Regions from separate parts of the Homo sapiens genome. Here region 2 is linked to region 1. The links are contacts of gene promoters, found by promoter capture Hi-C in blood cells and fetal thymus (Javierre and others, 2016). All regions are on one chromosome and are shown on one strand. The core of a region is centred on a gene start or on the middle of the fragment in contact, and the rest is flanking DNA. Distances in the headings are between cores, read along the strand shown. Region 1 holds the start of FAM3A (FAM3 metabolism regulating signaling molecule A). Region 2 overlaps ARHGAP4 (Rho GTPase activating protein 4).

Region 1 (4,328 bases), core at 347-2,846:
ACAACATGTAAATATTGTCTTTGAAAAACACCGGCTGGCAGCTCAAGGGTGTGAGTAACCTGGAGCTTCTTCGACTGGGCCCCCCTGAGGAGGGCATGGAGCCCAAGATTCGTTACCATAATTACTTGAGAGGCTGTCAAATTCCATGACAAAACGCAAATGCAAAGCCCTGGCCCCAGCAGCAGGCAGCTGAAAGGGACCTTGACCCTGTTGAGTACTCCAGTATAGAAGCTGCTGGATTCTAACCAGGGCTCTCCCATGCCCGGCTCTATAAACTTTCTCTATATTTTGCATTGTTTCCCTAAGGGTAGGAGATTCCCGTAAGTTGGGTCAAAGGGCAGGGAGGTTTCCGTGGTTCTCATTGGGCCCTGCTGCTGCTCTCCAGACAGATGATGGATCAGCTGTCAGGGTGGCCCCGGCCATGCCAGCGCAGTAGGTGGTCAGGGCGCACTTGGGGCAGCCGGCAGGGCAGAAGGGACGGGAGCTTGACCCGTGTTCTCATGGGCAGAGGGAGCCCGGGCAGTGTTGGGGGCAGCGTGCGGGCAGGCGCGGAGGGGAGATAGCCAGGCAGTCAGGGAGAATTGGGGTGACTGGAGAAAGGCCGAAGGGCCGCGTCTGCCTGCGGCCGGAGACCACCCCAGGTCCATACAGCCAGCTGGGTGCCGGGCACCATTTGGAGCCGCTGGGAAAGCCAAGCACCGCTCTTTCTGGAGCCTTCTTTTTTCCTATTGTTAGGGAATTCACGACGTCACACTTGTTTTCAAGTGAAAATAAGAGTTGTGTAGGACGCGAAAGTCACGTGACTTGAAAGCTGAACCTGAGAGGCCTCAAAATAAATTCTGGTTTGCTGTGAAAGCCTCGGGTTATAGCGCTAAACTCCCCCCTCCACTGCCCCCGAAAGTTGTATTCTCCTCTGCTTTTAGGGTGGGGTGTGGCGTAAACAACACAGCTTGAGCAGCTCTGAGGAGGAGGGTGTTAGAGACCAGGCAGGCGGAGCAGGCAAGAGTTTTCAAGGATGTCGAAATAGTTTGAGACGCCCCGTCCCATTATAAAAGTGATAACGAGAGACAGCAGGAACGCGCTTCTGGACAGAAAACAGACCCTAAGGAAAGGCAGCCAGAGGCTCACGCTGGATCCTGCGGTCTTCCCTATCTGCGCCTCTGTACCTCCCTTGCCTTTACAAAGCGCATGGATCAACTTTGGAACAGGTTCTAATTCTGCCCCAGATCCATCTGCGTCTTCCCACGACTCACAAATCTGACCTCAGGGTGCAAGCGCAGCCCCAGCCCTCTAAGCCTGGGTAGGCAGGGCTCTCCCACCCGAGAAAGGGCCGAGGGGAGACTTCCGGGGCGGGACCGACGTGGGCCCCTCCCACTCGGCGGCCGGTGGGTTCAGCCTGAACGCACTGCGGAGGTGGGGCCGACGAGGGATCCAGGGGCGGGACAGGTTCGGGGCGGGACAGGTTCAGGCCCCTCCCATGCGGCGGCCAGCGCGAGCGGTAGAGGCGGGTCTGGAGGCGGGGCCTGCGTGGAGCCAGACGGCGCAGCTGCTGCCGGGGGCGGGGCCGGCGGGCTGTGGCCCCGCCCTTAGCCGCCATTGCCGGGCCTGCCTGGCCACCCTGCGCAGCGGCCTTGCGTCCTCTCCCGGGGCGGAGCGGGTCGGCGGGCCTGACAGGGAACCTCCCTGACCGAGCCCACGTCTCCCCACGGCCAGAGAAATCTCCGGCCCGGCCCGCATCGCCAGCCCCCAGGCCCGGAGGAACGGCCCGAGCCCAGGAGAACCACATCTTCGTCCCAGCCCCGGAGGCTCCTGTGGGCAAGATCGTGAGCCAACGGGTTCCTGAGGCCCCTCCTGGCCAGGCAGGGTTTCCCCGCGCGTTTCCGAGGAGCCCTGCCTGGCCGGGCGGCTGGACAAACAGGTCGTAGCACCGATCGCGCCCGCCCCCAGCAGGGGTCCCGCACAGGCTTGCCCCTGACCCCCACCCAAACCTGTCCTTCCGCTTTGCCCCCAAACAGTGCACTTGCCGGCGGTCCCAACCCAGCAGGAGAAGTGGACATGAGGTTGGCAGGTGGGTGGCTTCCACAGCGAACGGGAGGGAGTTGAAAAGGGCACCTGGCTGGAGGCCCAGCGTCGCGACATCTGTGTCTGGAGAGGCCCGGGTGAACCACTGGGTTTGGTTTTGGAAATGGAGGACTCTGCACAAACACTCGTTCCTTGACCTTAACCAAATCCTTTCACCTCTGAGGACGTCAGCTCCCCGAGCTATGACATGAGGATTAGTATAGTCAGTATCTCCCAACGCAGGTAGCAGACCAGCTGCTTTTTGGAAAATGAGTGGTGAGAGAGAGGAGGTGGGCAGTCCAGGTGGAGAGGCGTGGTCTTAGAGGGGAAGTGACAAAAGTGGCTGTGGGCTTCGACATGAACCCGATGACAGCCCTACTGTCACCTGGACAAGTAAGATGAAGATCCTTGGGGAGGGATAGGTTGGGGCTGGGTGGAGAGTAGAAACAACTCGGGAATTGGACTTCAGACTTGCTAAGGTGGTAACTTTGTGGACATATCCAGGTGGAGCTGGCCACTGAGGAACCAGCTGGCAGGGAGTGGTTTCAAGAGAGGCCACGGCTGGAACTAGAAAATAGAAAGTCATTGACACATGGTGCTTAATTAAAGAGCTAGGAGTAGATGACATCATCTAAAAACACACTACAGGCCGGGCGCGGTGGCTCACGCCTGTAATCCTAGCACTTTGGGAGGCCGAGGTGGGAGGATCACTTGAAGTCAGGAGTTCGAGACCAGCCTGGCCAACATGGTGAATCCTCATCTCTACTAAAAAAATACAAAAAAATGAGCCTGGCGTGGTGGCGGGTGCCTGTAATCCCAGCTACCCGGGAGGCTGAGGTTGCAGTGAGCCGAGATTGCGCCACCGCATAACTCCAGCCTGGGCGACAGAGCGAGACTCCGTCTCAAAAAAGTAAAGACAGCTGGGCGCAGTGGCTCACGCCTGTAATCTCAACACTTTGGGAGGCCAAGGCGGGTGGATCACCTGAGGTCAAGAGTTCGAGACCAGTCTGGCCAAGATGGTGAAACCCCGTCTCTACTAAAAATACAAAAATTAGCCAGGCATGGCCGGGTGCGGTGGCTCACACCTGTAATCCCAGCACTTTGGGAGGCCGAGGCGGGCGGATCACGAGGTCTGGAGATCAAGACCATCCTGGCTAACATGGTGAAACCCCGTCTTTACTAAAAATACAAAAAAATTAGCCGGGCGTGGTGGCGGGCGCCTGTAGTCCCAGCTACCAGGGAGGCTGAGGCAGGAGAATGGCGTGTAACCGGGAGGCGGAGCTTGCAGTGAGCCAAGATCACGCCACTGCACTTCAGTCTGGGCAACAGAGCAAGACTCTGTCTCAAAAAAAAAAATTAGCCAGGCACGGTGGTGCGCGCCTGTAATCCCAGCTACTTGGGAGGCTGAGGCAGGAGAATCGCTTGAACCCAGGAGGCGGAGGTTGCAGTGAGCCGACATCGCGCCATTGCACTCCAGCCTGGGGGGCAAGAGCAAGACTCCGTCTCAAAAATAAAAAAAATAAAAAGACACTACAGGTAGGGACCAGAAGGCAGCCTGAGATGGGAGCCTGGGAAAGTCCAGCTTTTAAGGGGAGGGTAGAGGAGACGATCTAACTAAGGAGAATGAGGAGTGTCCAGAGAGATTGGGTCAGGAGAGTGTGCTGTCCGGAAAGCCAGCAGAGAAGTTAGTGCTTCTGTCAGGTGGACATGGGCAGCCCACTGAGAGGTCAAGGAAGATCAAGGCTGACAGGTCACCAGGGGTGGTGACACCACAAAGGTCATCAGTGGCCTTGGCAACAAGCTGATTTGGTGAGGTGGTGGAAGCCAGGCCAGACTGGAGTAGGGTGGGAGGGAGTAGGAGGTGAGATGATGGAATGAGTATAGATGACTTTTGAGGGGGTTGACAGGGAAAAGAAAGGTTAGGGGAAAGAGGATGGGGATGTGGTTTTGAAGAAGAGTGTTTTCTTTGCTTCCTTAACATTGGAGATGTTGAAAATACAGGAGAAAGAGCGAACTAGAGAGAGTGATCACTATTACAAGAAATCAGAGAAGGCTGGGGAGCTTGCAATCCAGGTCCCAGCAGATGACGGGACTGTTGTTGTTTTGGTTTTGTTTTGTTTTGTTTTTGTTTTTGTTTTGAGGCAGAGTCTCACTCTGTCGCCAGGCTGGAGTGCAGTGGCATGGTCTCAGCTAACTGCAACCTCCGCCACCCAGGTTCAACTGATTCTCCTGCTTCAGCCTCCTGAGTAGCTGGGATTACAGGTGCG
Region 2 (4,043 bases), core at 1,535-4,034, 590 kb after region 1:
CGCTGGCCCAGGGCCCGATGCTCTCCCCAGCGACCTCTGGAGCGGGGGTGGAGGAGGGAGCCTGAGCCCCTTGCCTGCCTCCCGACGCCCATTTGGCCTCAACCGCCTGCCATTTTCCCTTCCTTCTTTCCTGTCTTCCTTCCTTTGGTCTCTGTCCTCCTTGGGTCTACCGCTTCTCACCCAAGGTTCAGTGGAGACACTGGTGGCCGCTGGTAAAAGAGAGCCAGATGCACCAACGTGCCCCTCAGAAGGCAGTATTTTAGCTACAGTGAAGTCAACCAGCTTGATTGGGCTGGGGGGTGAGTAAGGGAGTCCGGGTGAGTGGATTGGTGGAGATCACCTGGCCGTAACCCCACTGCAGTCCCTGGAGCTTCAGCACCTTTTGCCTCCCTTTAGCACTGAGGGGGAGCAGAGGCGAGGGCCACTGTCTCTGGGTCAAGCTGGCGCAGTGAGTCTTGGTTGAGAGATTTAACAGGGCTGGCTTCTCAGCCTTCTGAAATTGAACCTCTGGGTTCTGATAAACACCCATGTGCAAATCACATGCAAATCAGCTTTGCAAATTCTTAGCCAATAGCTTGTGCCCATCTTATTCAGGGCATGGTAACTCTTGCAAAGGAAAGAGGCAGCAGCTCAGTGCCAGCAGCTCGTCCATATCACTCTCAATCACTCCATTTTACCAATTACGGAAACAAGCTCAGAGAGGTGCAGTGACTTGCCCGTGGTCATACAGCACTGCAACTTCTAGGACGTAGAATGCAATGACCCTTGAAGTGCCTTTGAACCCAGAGATGTAGGTTCTAACATCATTATTCAGTGCAAGCAATTTATACCAAAGTATGCTCCAGTCCTCCTTTGGAAAAGGCAGCCTGTGTCCAGAGCCAGCTTGAGGTGACTACACAGGGTGAGCCAGCTTTCCAAGCCTCGCCATCATCTTGCTCAGATGGAGGTAATGATCTCCATCCTGCTTCCCCAAAATGCCATGAAGCTGAAAGACTTGGAAAACTTCAGTCAGCAAATATGGGTCAGTGATTTCACACTGAAAAGTTGGGGTTTCGAGCACGACTGTCTAAGGGTTCCTCACTTGCTCTGGGTCTGCATCCCACACCCTGGAAAAGCTTCCTACCATTCTACAAAGTGGGGTCACTGTCTTGACACCCTAAATTCTCAAAGGTCAGCATAGCGGTGGTTTTGGAGACCATCTTTTCTTCTGTTTTGCTTGTCAGCAGAAGTGAGACCAAATGCCTTGCTCACAGGAAGTGCTGGTGGGGCCCGGGGCCCAGCTCTGTAATTCAGGCAGACATGGATTCCAGCTCTCCTTTTGCCAGATGTTTCCTATACATCTGTGCTGTCCCAGGCCCTGGGAGTATACTGCTGTACCAGAGAGAACCCCGACTCCAGCCCCTCCAGCCCTGGCTTTTTACCCAGAGTAAAAGCAATGATTCAATGAGGACTCCCCTGATTTCAAATGGCGTCAGTGGCCACCCCGCCCTCACATGGCTCACGGGTCTAGTGGGGGAGACATAGACTTTGCATTATGATAATAAGCACTACAAAGGGAAGGAAAGTGCACGGTGCCAAGAAGGGGTCGGAAGAGGGCCAGCCCTAGTTTAGGGGGAGGTCAGGACAGGGTGTGCTGACGAGTTTGTCTGAACTGAGATCCGAAAGCTCTGCCAGGAAAGCCACCAATGCAATCGACTTGCAATTCACAAGTTGCCTGCTCAACACCAGCCGGTGTGCATGCCCGGATCTGGACTAGGACATGGCTTCCAGTCAGCTTTTGCTGCCGGCAGTGATGAAGAAAGGCAGCGGTTCCCTCTGCTGGTTCCTTCTGCACTGTTCAGTTGTCATAAGTCCCCAGGGATTGTATTCCTCTGGGGGAAGCAGGGCAGGGCAGGCTCCAGAGGGCCAGTGAGGCGAGCAGTTGTCTAACACCTTTCTTGGAATGAAATGAAATTTACTTTTATCAAAAAATGTTAAACTGGGCCAGGCGTGGTGGCTCACGTCTGTAATCCCAGCACTTTGGGAGGCCGAGGCGGGCGGATCACCTGAGGTCAGGAGTTCAAGACCCAGTCTGGCCAACATGATGAAACCCTGTCTCTACTAAAAATACAAAAATTAGCTGGGTGTGGTGGTGCGCCCCTGTAGTCCCAGCTACTCGGGAGGCTGAGGCGGGAGAATCGCTTGAACCCGGGAGGCGGAGGTTGCAGTGAGCCGAGATCGCACCACTGTACTCCAGCCTGGGCAACATCCTCCGTCTCAAAACAAAAAATCAAAACAAAACGTTAAACTGATTCAGTGAGGACTCTCCTGATTTCAAATGGCATTAGCGCCCACCCCACCTGGCCTTGGAGCTGACGAGTTAACCACAGGAGGCCAGCCTCGGATAGGATGAAGACACTCTCCATCTGTCTCACTTGGCATCGTGGGCTCTGCCCTGCTCTGTCGGGAGGTCCCGTGCCCCAGGCTTCCACTTACCCAGCTTGATCTGCCGGTGGGAAGAGCTCTCCTGTTCAGTAATTCAATTGGAAGGGTCAGGCTCCTGGGTCCCTCACCTGGCTAGTCTGGTGGGGGCAGGGAGTGGAGGGACAGAGGGATGGGTGACGCATGCAGCCAGGGCTGGGGCACCTGGAGTCAAGGGGGCTGAGACTAGGAAGGGGACATTCTCCAATAGGAGATCAGGGGAGGAGGTAGGGATGCTGGGCAGGCGGAACCCACAGGGTCCCCATGCAACAGCCCCTGGGAAGTCACTGGCGGGACAGAAATCCAATGGGATTGAGCTCTTCTCAGCGGAGTCCTCCCTCGCTGCTGCTGGTCTGAATCCTGCCGTCTTTTGCCTGGACTAGCACAGTAGCTGCCACCTGGGCTCCACCTGGCAGTGTGAGGGGGCCCTGAAAACGAAGCTGGACCACATCACCCCACTACTGTGGCTCCTCTCTCACTCGGAGTCCAGCTGGGAGCTCTGCCCAGACCCCGGGCTCTGTGCCATCTGTCCCTACCGGTCTCTCGGACTCCCCCTACTGCCCACGTACAGCCAGCTCCAGCCTTCTGCTCCAACGATGCGGCTTGTTCTTGACCACCCTCCTTTAAAAAGAGGTCCTCCCTGTCCCCACCCACCCCTGGCTCTGATCTTGCTTTGTGGGTTCATCTTCTCCGCACCCATCACTCCTGGGCATTCTGATATGTGTTCGTGCCCCATTCCAATCCCAGCTCCAAGAGGGCAGACACTTGGTCAAACCTCTTTGCCTTTGTATTTAAAACGTGCCTGCCACAGAATGGGTGCATAATCAACATTCTGCTGAATGAAGACATCAATTCATGTCCCTCCCTGGGGATGTGGATGGAGATGAGTAGGTGGGCAGCCTGCTGGCCAGAAGCTGAGCTAGCATCTTATTTACTCGGGACGGGCACTCAGGAGATGGCAAAAGTGTCTTCCGCAGGTTGCTTAAACTTGCTGGACAGGCACTTCTTTGCTTCAGGCCTGTGTGGGGGAAGCAGCGTTGCCAAATCAAGCCAGTGATAGGGTGTCAAAAGGCCGGCAGTATGGGGCCCTGGGTGTGACTCTCTCTGCAGGGTGGGGGAATGCACAGGTGGGGCGGGGGGTGATTGGGAGTGGGAAGTGGGGTCAGAAGACGGGGGCTAGCTCCCTGCCCCATTCTTTCACTTACAAGGCCGGATCAGCTCTCCCTGGCTCCCAGCCCTCACTGTGGACTGTCCTTTCCCCTGGGGCCTGAGGGCAGGCTTCCCCAGCCACTGAGACTGCGAGATCGCTGCAGGCTTGCCCTGAGCAGCACTGTGATCTGTGTGTTGTGTATCCGTGTGTTTGCAAGGGAGGCTGCCACCTCCCGGAGCCTGGGTACCGGCGGGAAAGGAAGTCGCAGGGGAAACCATTCAGAGGCTTTCCAGGAACGAGGGAGAGACAGGAAGCCAAACTGAAAGGTGCCTGGCTGGCGCTGGGGCGGCTCTCCCCTCTCTCTGGGACACCCTTCCCCTTCCCCCTCAACCGGGTGGCTCTGGCCATCTGTTGGCCTCAGCGCAGAGGTCGG

The links. The method cuts DNA at HindIII sites, captures the fragments that hold promoters and counts their contacts. A CHiCAGO score of 5 or more calls a contact.
Region 2: a contact is called between a fragment that was not itself captured here and the fragment with the promoter of FAM3A in region 1, in 1 of 17 cell types (total CD4 T cells). The highest score is 6.3, in total CD4 T cells.

Annotation. Positions count from the first base shown.
Region 1 is chrX:154,513,500-154,517,827 of GRCh38, reverse strand. It overlaps FAM3A (FAM3 metabolism regulating signaling molecule A), which reads left to right and starts at 1,596. Exons shown (of 9, transcript NM_021806.4): 1 at 1,596-2,068. The coding sequence starts at 2,056. LOC124905229 (a long non-coding RNA gene) reads right to left here and starts at 2,348. Exons shown (of 2, transcript XR_007068357.1): 1 at 2,113-2,348. RefSeq lists silencers at 950-1,106, 1,322-1,731 and enhancers at 1,082-1,704, 1,705-2,328. The HindIII fragment of the contact is 19,151 bases long and covers 1-4,328 here.
Region 2 is chrX:153,922,017-153,926,059 of GRCh38, reverse strand. The region is part of intron 1 of ARHGAP4 (Rho GTPase activating protein 4); the gene reads left to right. Among named protein-coding and RNA genes, the nearest start is that of ARHGAP4, 2.2 kb to the left of the region's middle. RefSeq lists a silencer at 1-41 and enhancers at 1,500-1,629, 2,136-2,636. The HindIII fragment of the contact is 3,334 bases long and covers 1,118-4,043 here.